Linked DNA regions of Homo sapiens: all the other regions are linked to region 3. Evidence: promoter capture Hi-C in 16 types of primary human blood cells and fetal thymus (Javierre and others, 2016). All regions are on one chromosome and are shown on one strand. The core of a region is centred on a gene start or on the middle of the fragment in contact, and the rest is flanking DNA. Distances in the headings are between cores, read along the strand shown.

The links. The method cuts DNA at HindIII sites, captures the fragments that hold promoters and counts their contacts. A CHiCAGO score of 5 or more calls a contact.
Region 1: a contact is called between a fragment that was not itself captured here and the fragment with the promoter of CD79A in region 3, in 1 of 17 cell types (total CD8 T cells). The highest score is 5.7, in total CD8 T cells.
Region 2: a contact is called between a fragment that was not itself captured here and the fragment with the promoter of CD79A in region 3, in 1 of 17 cell types (non-activated CD4 T cells). The highest score is 6.3, in non-activated CD4 T cells.
Region 4: a contact is called between a fragment that was not itself captured here and the fragment with the promoter of CD79A in region 3, in 1 of 17 cell types (erythroblasts). The highest score is 5.6, in erythroblasts.

What each region holds. Positions count from the first base shown.
Region 1 is chr19:42,438,672-42,441,707 of GRCh38, forward strand. All of the region lies in intron 1 of CXCL17 (C-X-C motif chemokine ligand 17), which reads right to left. All of the region lies in intron 1 of LIPE-AS1 (LIPE antisense RNA 1), which reads left to right. Among named protein-coding and RNA genes, the nearest start is that of CXCL17, 2.8 kb to the right of the region's middle. RefSeq lists silencers at 1-25, 1,704-1,793. The HindIII fragment of the contact is 3,145 bases long and covers 84-3,036 here.
Region 2 is chr19:41,304,458-41,307,676 of GRCh38, forward strand. HNRNPUL1 (heterogeneous nuclear ribonucleoprotein U like 1) reads left to right here. Exons shown (of 15, transcript NM_007040.6): 14 at 1,219-1,410; 15 at 1,992-3,219. The coding sequence ends at 2,108. It overlaps LOC105372401 (a long non-coding RNA gene), which reads right to left. Exons shown (of 2, transcript XR_935968.4): 2 at 3,082-3,219. Among named protein-coding and RNA genes, the nearest start is that of CCDC97, 4.1 kb to the right of the region's middle. The HindIII fragment of the contact is 1,980 bases long and covers 867-2,846 here.
Region 3 is chr19:41,875,743-41,879,065 of GRCh38, forward strand. It overlaps CD79A (CD79a molecule), which reads left to right and starts at 1,537. Exons shown (of 5, transcript NM_001783.4): 1 at 1,537-1,641; 2 at 3,248-3,323. The coding sequence starts at 1,563. RefSeq lists an enhancer at 202-271 and a silencer at 1,679-1,738. The HindIII fragment of the contact is 1,040 bases long and covers 973-2,012 here.
Region 4 is chr19:42,414,584-42,417,631 of GRCh38, forward strand. All of the region lies in intron 1 of LIPE (lipase E, hormone sensitive type), which reads right to left. All of the region lies in intron 1 of LIPE-AS1 (LIPE antisense RNA 1), which reads left to right. Among named protein-coding and RNA genes, the nearest start is that of LIPE, 11 kb to the right of the region's middle. The HindIII fragment of the contact is 1,173 bases long and covers 789-1,961 here.

The sequences.
Region 1 (3,036 bases), core at 406-2,905, 560 kb after region 3:
TCATTCTCCCATGAAAGGAACTAGGGCTTCCAGGAAAAATAGCTGATCCAGGGCTGGGGCAGAAAAACACAAGAGGAGCCCAAAGCTTCTTGTGGTGTCAGAAAGTAAGGAGCTGCTCAAAAAATGGTGGAGATGTGTCTAAAGGTCACAGAAGCCAACTAGAAGGAGCTCCCAATGGCCAATTTTGGGACAATATGAGCAACATAATAAATAATGATAGTAGTGGATTCCAACCCATAAATACTCATGAGTCCATGCTGATATAAATAAATAACTGAACAAATAAATAAATAAGGAAGAGGCTAGGCATGGTGGCTCACGCCTGTAATCCCAGCACTTTGGGAGGCCAAAGTGGGGGGATCACTTGAGGCCAGGAATTAGAGACCAGCCTGGCTAACATGACAAAACCCCGTCTCTACTAAAAATACAAAAATTAGCTGGGTGTGGTGGTGTCTGCCTGTAGTCCCAGCTACTCAGGAGGCTGAGGTGGGAGGATCGCTTGAGCCCAGAAGGTGGAGGCGGCAGTGAGCCAAGATCACACCACTGCACTCCAGCCTAGGCAACAGAGCAAGACTCTATCTCAAAAAAAAAAAAAAAAAAAAAGAAAAAGAAAAAGGAATAACTCTTTCTTATGGCAGAATTCCGATTAAATAAATGTAGAAGGAACAATGGAAGTAGAAAATCACTATTTGGCCAACACCACAGTAATAATTCTTTATAGGAAACAATCATCCATAGATTCTAAAAGTTAATATTAAAAGTATGATGATGCCATAACTGGTGAATAACAAGAAAAAAAAAAGTATGATGAGAAGAAACAGGCTATTTACATATTTCCAAAGTGTCTCTCCACAAGATACTTATTAATTACAATAAGATGAATAGTAACTTTACAGTAGAGAAACCTGGCAGACACCACCTGAACCAAGTGCTTAAAGTGAACCTCATCAGTAATGAGAGATATCGACATCCTGGGGCTCTTGCTGGGATGTCCAGAGAAGGATACATCACTTCTGAAGTATTCTTGCCCAAAATGTGTAGCCGGAAATATCAGACAAACCCATATTCAGGGGGCATTCTACAAAACAACTGGCTAGAACTCTTCAAAAGTGTCAAGGTCCTGAAAGAGAGGGAAAGACTGAGAAACTATCCCAGGTTGGAGGAGACCTAGGAGATCTGACATTTTATTCAGTGGGATCCCAGATTGGAGTCTGGAGCAGAAAAAGGACATGAGTGGGATGATTAGCAAGATTTGAACATTTGTAGATTAGTTAATATTATGGTATCAGTGCTAATCTCCTGGTTTTGATAATTGTATTATGGTTACATAAGATATTGTTTGAAAACAATTGGATGAAGGCTGTACTGGAACTCTATTTTTACAATATTTTTCAAAGTCTGAAAAATGAAAAGTAAGAAAAAGTAAGAAATGCATTAGATTTGTGAGGACAAATGAGATAGTAAGTGTGAAGTGATTAGAACAATGCTTGTGATATAGGAGTTCTTAATGTGTCTGATATTATAAGTAATTTTATAATTAAATAATATTATAATTAATGAATAATCTGTTATTTTAAGTAATTTATTTCCTAATGACCTCATATATTCTCACTTATTTCTATTTCCCTTAACCCTGTGAAAAGCATATTGAGCATGTATGTGATTAAGAGATAAAATAAGATTAGACTTTATTCTGAGATTTATTTTGGGGATGGAGGAGCTATTATTTCCTTTAGCCACTAAGTAGCTCAGACTCAGGCCTGCACTGCAAAACTTTGCTTGGCTGGGAAACAAGATTTGAGCCCGGCCGCCACCCACTCGACGTGGTTTGTGATGGCGCCCCCTGGTGGCGCAGGGAGCTTTCCCCAGTTCCTCACCCTCGTGCTTTAGGAGCGACTTAGAAACTACTCAGTCCATTTATTAAACCCTTTCTAGGACACGCTGCGGATCATTTAATCTTCACAAGTGTGTGTGACAAGTGGTATTTTCTTCATTTTAAGATGATAAAACTGAAACTCAAAAAAGTGAGGCGACTTGTCTAGGGTTGCAAAGTGTGTGGCAGAGCCAGGATCTAGGTCCCCCTGACTTCCAAGCTGAGTGTAAAGGTCTAGGTGAGTCTAAAAGTGTGGCCATGCAGAGAAGTATTGGTGTAGAGCAGTGGTTGTTGACCAAGGGTGGTTCCCCCTCCGGGGTCATTTGGCGATGTCTAGAGATATTTTTGGCTGCCATAACAGGGGTTTGGATGAGGGAGAGGGGAGGCTGCTATTGGCATGTAGGGGAGAGAGGCCACGCGGATGCTGCTGAACATCTCACAATACACAGAACAGCCCCCACCGCAAGGAACTGTTCAGCCCAAATGTCAGTAGAGCTGCTATGAAGCCCTGGTTTGATTTAGCAACCTGAGGATGCATTCTTGCAGTTAGCTAATGTTTGCTGAGTACTGAGCTGGATAGCGTGAGGGATATGGAAACAGTGCACCAGTCTGTGTCACCAAGTAGTTTGCAGCCTAGAAGGACAGGGGGTGGGGGCAGGAAAGGCACATGAAGGCCCTCAATATAAGGCAGCAGATGATAAGTGCAAGAAGAGAGTGTCCAGCAGGGCTAAGCCAGCGCTCAGGAGGGAGACCACATGTCTGGCTGTGGGAGGAACTGAAGGAAGCTGTGGGAAGGTGGTTTTGAGCTGGGTGTGTGAGCAAAGTTGAACTGGTGGAAAAACACAATACCTGTTCAGGGAAGGGCAAACAGGTTAGTTTGGTTGGAGAAATAGTATTTTTAGTGAGTAGAGGGAGGTACACTAGAAAGGCAGGTTGGGGCTACAGCTTTGAATCCAGGCAGAGGACTCTAGCCTGGGTGTCTGTCATAGTGATGGAAAAGTCTTCCCTTTCAGAACAGTGGTCTAGGCCCTAGGGCTATGGGGCTTAACAGCTTCCAGAGCACTCTCTCTACAAAGGAGGGGATGTTGGAAATTGGGGTGGAGAAGGGAGAATGCCTCCTGATTTTAGGACCAAGTTGATGCTGAGTATGTAACATAGCCATT
Region 2 (3,219 bases), core at 607-3,106, 570 kb before region 3:
CAAACCCAGGAGTAAATGTAGACCTTCCCAGAACCTGCTCTTCTCCCACCACCCTCAAGGGGATGGGCTGTAAGCACTGATCCCTCCAGCAAGTACATTATTCTTGGCTAGTGTCACTAACCTCACTAAATCCCCAAGAAAGCACTTGACTGGAGTCACCCCTTGCCCAGGCTGGCTGACCTCTTTGTCTTTTGGACATAATAACCAGGGCACTAAGGTTGCTGAGGACTTGCCCTCTGCACAGAGAGCTTCAATCCTGAGCAGCTCCAGGCTCAGTTCCCATTCTTGGAAAGCCAGTGCCCTGGCTCTGGTATGCACAGGCTCCTGTAAACCAGAGAGGTTTTCAGTTATCGCACAGCCATTTCCCAAGCACTTTCCTCATGCCGGGCCTGGAATCAGCTGCCAGGAGACCAATGGATGGTTCCCAGGCCCAGCTAACTAGAATATTTCTTAGAACAAGAGTTGGGCAGGCACAGATCCAAACCCCCAGCCCCACAACATCCTGTTTCTGTGAGCTTGGACAAATAGCTTCCCGTCTCTGGGCCTCATTTTCCTCATAAAGGTGTTAGTAGAAGTCCCTTCCAAGGTTTGTTGTGAGGAATGGGTGGCACTATAGCTCTGGGACTAGGCAGACCTGGGGTCAAGTCCTTTTTCCTTGGCCCAGAAATTTCATCTTGAGCCTCAGTTTCTTTCTCTTTAAAATGGGGCTAGTGGGACCTACCCCTAGGTTCTATATGGAGATTATATGATGTAATGATCCAACCTGTACTTGGGAAGCACTTAGTCAATTGCCACTACTGTTTCTCAGCAGATCTTCCAGTAACAACTACCACCACCTGTTGAGTACCCAGTGGTTTATACACACAAGCTTATTGGATACCCAGGGCAAGCTAAAGGAGTTGTTCTTGTTCTATTGTGATTCTCATTTTATAAAAAAGAAAACTGAGATTTCAAGAAGTGCCGTGTACCTTGCTCCCTGGGGGTCTCAGAGCTGGGGTTAGAGTCCACATCACAGCCCTGGGGCTTGCCCTTCATCCTGCCCTACCATGGCATGGAGCTGGCTCTCCTCCTTCTCAGCCCACAAACAATGTCCACTAGGCAAGGGAAGGGCCCCTGTGGGCCAACCACTTAAAAAGGCCCTTTTTCCATCCCAGCATTTCACATCTGCAGATTTCCTCTATTTCACAGAGCTTTGGCTTTTTTCCCTCCACTTTCCAGCCGAGTTACAGCCAGCCACCCTACAACCAGGGAGGTTACAGCCAGGGCTACACAGCCCCACCGCCTCCACCTCCACCACCACCTGCCTACAACTATGGGAGCTACGGCGGTTACAACCCGGCCCCCTATACCCCACCGCCACCCCCCACTGCACAGACCTACCCTCAGCCCAGCTATAACCAGTATCAGCAGGTAGGTGCCAGACTGGGGGCCAACTGGATGGAGAGACTTCCATGGGCCCCTCCTGGGTGTGTATTCCCAGACTTAAGTCCCTGCTTATCCCTAAAAAGACAGCCTGCTGGCCTCGGCCTGGCGTTCATCTGGTGCAGCCATTCCATTTGGTCAACACTTCTGCACTGGTTGCTAGGTAATTGGTATCCTAGCCCCCTCCACAGTCTAGCAAGTGAAGGGGAAGGGCTGGCCTAAGTACCAGGGGCCTCAGAGTCCTCTTTCAGCACCATAGACAGGGGGCTCCAAATCCTGCTGCAGGTTGGTGCCCAGGCCCCCATACCTGTTACTAAATCTTTTGACTATGATATCTAGCTATACCCAAAAGGCACTGGGTTGACAAGCTGAGACCTGGGCTTCAGTCCCTAACTGCCTACCTGTGTGGTGTCAGGTCTTTCCAAGGTGCCTTGATTTCTCTGTCAGGGGACCTGTGTTCAACTGTTGTCACTGCAGCTGTCTCTGCCCTAGGTGAGGGTGGGGCTGGTGGGGAGGCTAAATGTGTGGTGGATGCAGGACAACTTGGTGTTCTTGGTTTCTTTCCCCAGTATGCCCAGCAGTGGAACCAGTACTATCAGAACCAGGGCCAGTGGCCGCCATACTACGGGAACTACGACTACGGGAGCTACTCCGGGAACACACAGGGTGGCACAAGTACACAGTAGCCAGTGTGACCCAGAGGCTCCCGGAGGCCCCTGCCGGCTTCCTCCACCAGCGCCTGCCTCGGCCCCTCCTCTGCCCCCGCCAGATCCCGTGGTGCTGGGGATGGGGTCATCCCAGGGCTGCCTCCCTCCAGCCCACTGCCTCCCCTCTGAGGGGCTTCCTTCCCCTCCATAGGGCCAGGCATTTTTTTCTGGATTCAAACAGGCAACAATGACCTTTTATTTTCTGTTTGTCCCCACCTCCCCAGCCTTCCACCTCCTGTTCTTCCTACCTTCTTCCTTTTTGACTAAATAATCCCCACCTCCCTTGATCATACAGTGAGGCTACAGTGACTGAGGGGAGAATCCCCTCCTGTTCACTCTCCCAACCCTGCTCCAGCCCCTCAGCTTCCCAGACCCTCATGCAGTTGGTTGTAAATTCTCCCAGGAGCTGTTTTACTGTCTACTTTTCAGGATTAAAAAAAAAATCAAAACTTAAAAAAAAAAAAGTTTAAAAAGCAAAATGGGGAGGGGGAGGAAGCAGTGACTTTTTTTTGGTAATTATGCGCTTTTTTTTAATTTTTAGAATTTGTCTTTTTACTGTGGGTGGGCTGTTGATATTTCATCAAGATAAGCATTTCTTTCCTGAGTTCAGGTGACTGAGGAAGAGCCACAAAACAAAACACAACAAAACCAAACCACAGAATCATCTTTAACCCAACTTTTTATACGATGCCCCAGTTCCCCATAACTTTGCACACAAGCTTCTGTGTTCAGTTGAATTGTAACTGCTTTTTGTATTTGGAGAGAGTGACTATTGAACTTGAAACCTTTTATTCCGGGCGTCTTGGTAGTTTCTGGTGGGATTCAGTGGGTGAGAGGGAAGAAGGGGAGGTTGGGGGGCTCCTTCCCTTCAGAACTTGAAGTTTCTCCCACTGCCTCCTCTCCAGTGGTCTCCCAGGTGCCAGACCCAAAAGCTTTTCCTACAGTGATACCCTTTATTTTTACTTCCCCTTGACTCATATGTTTTAACATGATTTTAACAAACTGCACTTATTAAGAAATGTGTTTGCCCTGTTTTGTTTGGTTTCGTTTTGTTTTCTTTGAATAAATGACATGGCACCTCCTAGCAGGA
Region 3 (3,323 bases), core at 287-2,786:
TCTGTTGGCTCACTTTGCCACAGTGTATGCACCCATTCTCCCACAAATGGACTTTTCATTTGCTTCTCAATGTTTGCTACCAAAAATCTCCCTGCAATAAATTTATTTTATATATCCCCTTGTATGTGTGTGAGGGTCCCCTAACTGCTCACAAATATCTCAGCAACTCCGCCCTCCCCACTCAGACCTCATTTCCCTCCTACCAGACATGCTCAAAGGAAACTGGGAGCAACACAAAGATGACTTTGAATCTCTGTCCACCACCCCTAGACTGTATGACACCCGCAAGTGACAACCTCCCCTCTCTGGCCTCGGTTTCCCCCTCTGTAAAATGGGGGATGGCCTACCTTGCCAGTCATGGCAGGTCAATATAAAACAACTTCTGGCTGTGCACAGTGGCACATGCCTGTAATCCCAGCACTTTGGGAAGCTGAGGCAGGAGGATTGCTTGAGGCCAGGAGTTCAAGACCAGCCTGGGCAATATAGCAAGATCCCATCCCTCTTAAAAAAAAAAAAGAAGAAAAATATATGTTGTTGTTGTTATTATTGTTATTATTAGAGACAGAGTTTCGCTTTTGTCACCCAGGCTGGAGTGCAATGGTGTGATCTCAGCTCACTGCAACCTCCACCTCCTGGGTTCAACTGATTCTCCTGCCTCAGCCTCCTGAGTAGCTGGAATAATAGGCATGTGCCACAACATCTGGCTAATTTTGTATTTTTAGTAGAGATGGGGTTTCGCCATGTTGGCCAGGCTGGTCTCAAACTCGACCTCAGGTGATTCTCCTGTCTCAGCCTCCCAAAGGGCTGGGATTACAGGCATAAGCCACCATAGCTGGCCTGTTTTTTTAAAAAAAGAATTCCAGTAAAGAGCTGATCATGGTTCTCACTCCTTGAATACCAGGAACACCATCTCGTATCACATAATGAGACAGGGAGACATTCTGGTCCTCATCTCACAGATGAAAAATGTCAAGCTTCGAAGGATCAAAGTGCCCACCTAGTCACACGGGTAGTCAGCCACAGGTCAGCCTGCCTTATTTATTCTTCATGAGTATTTATAGTGACTAACATTTACTGGGCGCCTACTGTGGGCCATTTCTGTGCATGTGACAACCCCTTTAAGTCCTTGTTTCTAATCCCAAGAAGCAAGGAAATGGGGTCAGGGAAGGGACAAGGTTTGCCCAAGTCCAGGCAGGGGGAGAGGTCAAGCTCAGAACCATCACCTGCCCATGACACATGCCCAGGACTCAGGTTCCCTAGGCTTCCTTCCAAAGGCTCAGCAGTGACGAGCCAGCCCTTGAACCAGCCTCTTCCCCCACCCAAGCAGCCACCTCTCAGGGGAATTGTGGCCACCACAGGTGCAGGGAGCAGTTTCTCTCCACTCACAGCCTGAAGCATACCCGGCAGGGGCTGTCCCCAGGCCCAACAAGCAAAGGGCCCAGTAGCGAGGGCCACTGGAGCCCATCTCCGGGGGGCTGGGCAGGAAGTAGGGTGGGGTTTGGGGTAGGGATCTGGTACCCTGGGACTGCTGCAACTCAAACTAACCAACCCACTGGGAGAAGATGCCTGGGGGTCCAGGAGTCCTCCAAGCTCTGCCTGCCACCATCTTCCTCCTCTTCCTGCTGTCTGCTGTCTACCTGGGTATGTGGCCAAAGGGCAGGAACTGGCGGGAGGTGGGGGAAGCTGTGGAGGCTGCAGAGAGGGCACAGGCAGAGGGAAGGGGGCTCAGGGAAAGGGGAAGAGGAGGCAGAGGATAGGGGACCCAGGGAAGATGCCTATAGAAATCGTATCTGTGCCAAGATGGGCCAAGGTGGGGCTGGAGGGAGCCCAGCGAAGGAGAAGGGGCGTCCACAGTCTCACACAGGGAGGCAGGAGCAAGAGTCACCTCCCCCACCTCCTGTTCCCCACAGGCCAAAATAAGGAACTAAAGTTGCTCTTGACTGAGCACCAGGGCTGGGGGCAGGAAGGGGACTTAGGGGTAGCAGCATTCAGCGTCTGTCAAGGGGAGAAAAAGCTTTCTCTGCCTTAAACCTCAGGTGCCTCTCTCTGTTGGGAGTCCCTTCTCAGCACTGGGGGAATGGGTGTCTCATGGACTCCCCCTCACCTGCTCAAGGACAGCTGGCAGGGGCTGTGGCCACGCTAACCCAGGAGTTCAGAGAAAAAGGTTCCCCACCCAAGGGGACACTGGGAGCAAGGATTGGAGTTCACGTCTGAGTCTTAAGCCCGTGACGATGAGGGTGCTCGGCCCCTCTCCCCATCTCTTCCTCCTTCTCTCTTCCTCACCTCCCTCCTCCACCTACCTCCAGAAGAGGGGACTGGCCATGTGGGAGGCCTGGCTGAGAGCTGGGGCTTCCCAGAGGAGCCCGGATTGGACACTGCAGCCAGCCTGAGCCGCCTCGTCTCACTCAGAGACACCCCCAGTCTCCACCCCGCTCTGAGCCCCTTCAATCACCAGCAGCCCAGCCCAAGGACTGAACTCACCCCTGACCCCTAGGTTGACACATACAACTTACAGAGAATGAGGGCCAGGCACAGGGTCACAGGCCAGGGCAGGCCACAGACTGGCTCCTCAGCCCAGGCAGGGAGAGGCCAGGGAGCCAAGAGTTTGAACCCAGTGCCACTCCTGACTGCCTGGTGATGCTGGCAACCCGCCTGCCCTCCCAGAGCCTCAGCCATCCCTCCTGTAAAATGGGGCTAAGGAGAGAACCTACTTCTAGGGTTCTGTGAATGATTACACAAGAAAAAGCGCCAGGTGCTGGGCCTGGCTGAGGCTGGGGTGCAAAAATGGACCGGGAAGGCTGCGGGAGGAGGGGACGCCTGCACTGCTTCTGGAAGGAGCTGTCTGGACAGCGGTCCTCCAGTGCCTGGAACAAACATCCAAAATCCAGAGAGTTCACAGGGCCAGAGTACAAAGTGGGTATGCGGGAGGGGGGCAAGAGATGGCGCTGCAGAGGTGAGAAGGGCCTCCCAGGGGTCTTACCATCCCAGGGAGTCTCATTCTCCTCTCCCAGGATATCCTCACCCACCCCAACCAGGTATGTCCTCTCTCCTTCCCAGGGGCTTCTTCACTTTCCCGCATCCCCCCTCTCCCCAGGATGTATCAGCCCCTGTCAGGGGCTCTCTCTCTCCCTCCCCACCCAGGAGAGTCCTCACCCTCTTCCCAGGAGTGCTGGAACTGCAGGGGCCAGGGCTGGGGAAATGTGTCACCATCCCCAGTCCCTGACCCACCCACCCTGTCTCTCCACAGGCCCTGGGTGCCAGGCCCTGTGGATGCACAAGGTCCCAGCATCATTGATGGTGAGCCTGGGGGAAGACGCCCACTT
Region 4 (3,048 bases), core at 125-2,624, 540 kb after region 3:
CCTTGCTTCACTGTGCCTCGCACATACTGCATTTTTTACAAATTGAAGGTTTGTGGCAACCCTGCGTCAAACCAGTCTGTTGGCACCATTTTTCTGACAGCAGTTGCTCACTTTGTGTCTCTGTGTCACATTCTGGTAATTTTCACAGTGTTTCACACTTTTTCATTATTATTATATTTGTTATGATGATCTGTGATCAATGATCTCTGGTGTTACTATTGTGAGTGGGGGCACCACCAACCATGTCCACGTAAGAGGGCGAACTTTACCGATTAATGCTGTGTGTGTTCTGACTGCTCCACTGACCAGCCATTTCCCCCATCTCTCTTCTCGAGCCTCCATATTCCCTAAGACATACAATATTGAGGCCGGGCACGGTGGCTAATGCCTGTAATCCCAGCACTTTGGGAGGCTGAGGCAGGTGGATCACTTGAGGTCAGGAGGTTGAGACCAGCCTGGCCAACATGCTGAAACCCCATCTCTACTAAAAATACAAAAATTAGCTGGGCATGGTGGTGTGTGCCTGTAATCCCAGCTACTCGGGAGGCTGAGGCAGGAGAATCGCTTGAACCCGGGAGGTGGAGGTTGTAGTGAGCCAAGATCACACCATTGTACTCCAGCCTGGAAAATAGAGCGAGAGTCTGTCTCAAATAAATGAAATGAGATGAAAAATAGAATAAAATAAAATAGAAATCAGGCCAATTAACAACCCTACAATGACCTCAAAGTGTTCAAGTGAAAGAAGAGTCTTATGTCTCTCATTTTAAATCAAAAGCCAGAAGTGATTAAGCTTAGTGAGGAAGGCATGTCCAGTGCTGAAACGGGCTAAAAACTAGGCCTCTTCTGCCAGTTAGCTAAGTTGTGAATGCAAAGGAAAAATTCATGAAAGTAATTAAAAGTGCTACTCCAGTGAACACATGAATGATAAGAAAGTGAACCAGTCTTAGCTGGGCATGGTGGCTCATGCCTGTAATCCCAGCACTTTGGGAGGCCGAGGCGGGCGGATCACGAAGTCAGGAGATCGGGACCATCCTGGCTAACACGGTGAAACCCCAGCTCTACTAAAAATACAAAAAATCAGCCGGGCGTGGTGGTGGGTGCCTGTAGTCCCAGCTACTAGGGAGGCTGAGGCAGGAGAATGGCGTGAACCTGGGAAGCGGAGCTTGTAGTGAGCCGAGATCGCGCCACTGCACTCCAGCCTGGGTGACAGAGTGAGACTCCGTCTGGAAAAAAAAAAAAAAAGTGAACTAGGCTTATTGTGGATATGGAGAAAGTCTGAACGGTCTGGATAGAAGGTCAAACCAGCCACATTTCCTTAAGCCAAAGCCTAATCCCAAGCGAAGCCCTATCCCTCTTCAATTCTTTGAAGGGTGAGAGAGGTGAGGAAGCTGCAGAAAAAAGGTTGGAAGCTAGCAGAGGTGGATTCATGAGATTTAAGGAAAGAAGGCATCTCTGTAACATAAAAGTGCAGGGTGACGGCCGGGCATCGTGGCTCACGATTGTAATCCCAGCACTTTGGGAGGCTGAGGCAGGTGGATCACCTGAGGTCGGGAGTTTGAAACCAGCCTGACCAACATGGAGAAACCCCATCTCAACTTAAAATACAAAAAAGAAGCCGGGCGTGGTGGCGCATGCCTGTAATCCCAGCTACTTGGGAGGCTGAGGCAGGAGAATCACTTGAACCTGGGAGGCGGTGGTTGCAGTGAGCCGAGATCGTGCCATTGCACTCCAGCCTGAGCAACAAGAGTGAAACTTTGTCTCAAAAAAAAAAGTGCAAGGTGATGTAGCAAGTGCTGCTGGAGGAGCCGCAGCAAGTTATGCAGAAGATCTAGCTAAGATCATTGATGAAGACGGCTACATTAAGCAACATATTTTCAGTGTAGATAAAACCACCAGGTATTGGAAGAAGATGCCATCCAGGACTTTCCTAGCTGGAGGGGAGGTCAGTGCCTGGGCGCCAAAGCTTCAAGGCCAGGCTGACCCCCTTGTTAGGGGCTAATGCAGCTGGTGACTCAGTTGAAGCCGGTGTTCATTTATCATTCCAGAAATTCTAGGGCCCTCAGGATTACGCCAAATGTACTCTGCCTATGCTCTTAAATGGAACAAAGCCTGGATGACAGCACGTCTGTTTACAGCATGGTTTACTGAATATTTCAAGCCCACTGTTGAGACGGACTGCACAGAAAACAACAAAATATTTCTCAATGACAATGCATGTGGTTACCAAAGGGCCCTGGTGGAGTAGATTAATGTGTTTTCATGCCCGCTAACACATGATCTGTTCTGCAGCCCACCAGCCAAGGAGTAATTTCGACTTTTAAGTCTTGTTATTTGTTATTATTATTATATTTTTTTGAGACGGAGTCTCGCTCTGTCGCCCAGGTTGGAGTGCAGTGGCGCAATCTCAGCTCACTGCAAGCTCCGCCTCCCGGGTTCACGCCATTCTCCTGCCTCAGCCTCCTGAGTAGCTGGGACGACAGGCGCCCGCCACCACACCTGGCTAATTTTTTGTATTTTTAGTAGAGACGGGGTTTCACCATGTTAGCTAGGATGGTCTCGATCTCCTGACCTCGTGATTCGCCTGCCTCGGCCTCCCAAAATGCTGGGATTACAGGCGTGAGCCACTGCGCCCGGCCAATTTCAACTTTTAAGTCTTATTATTTGTTATTCTTATTTTTAAAATTTTTAGTTTTAGAGATGGATTCTTGCTGTGTCACCTGGGCTGGAGTGTAGTGGCACGATCATACCTCACTGCAGCCTTGAACTTCTGGGCTCAAGTGATCCTCCTACTTCAGCCTCCTGAGTAGTGGGGACTACAGATGGGCACCACTATGCCTGGTTCATTTTTTTTTTTCCAGGTTTTTAGAGACAGAGTCTTGCTATATTGCCTAGGCTGGTTTTGAATTCCAGGCCTCAAGAGATCCTCCTGCCTTGGCCTCTTGAGTAGCTGGGAGAGTCACTGCATCTGGCTAATTTTTTGTGTTTTTTAAGAGACAGGGCTGTGTTGCCTAGCCTGGTCTTGAACACTGGACCTCAAGTGATCATCCT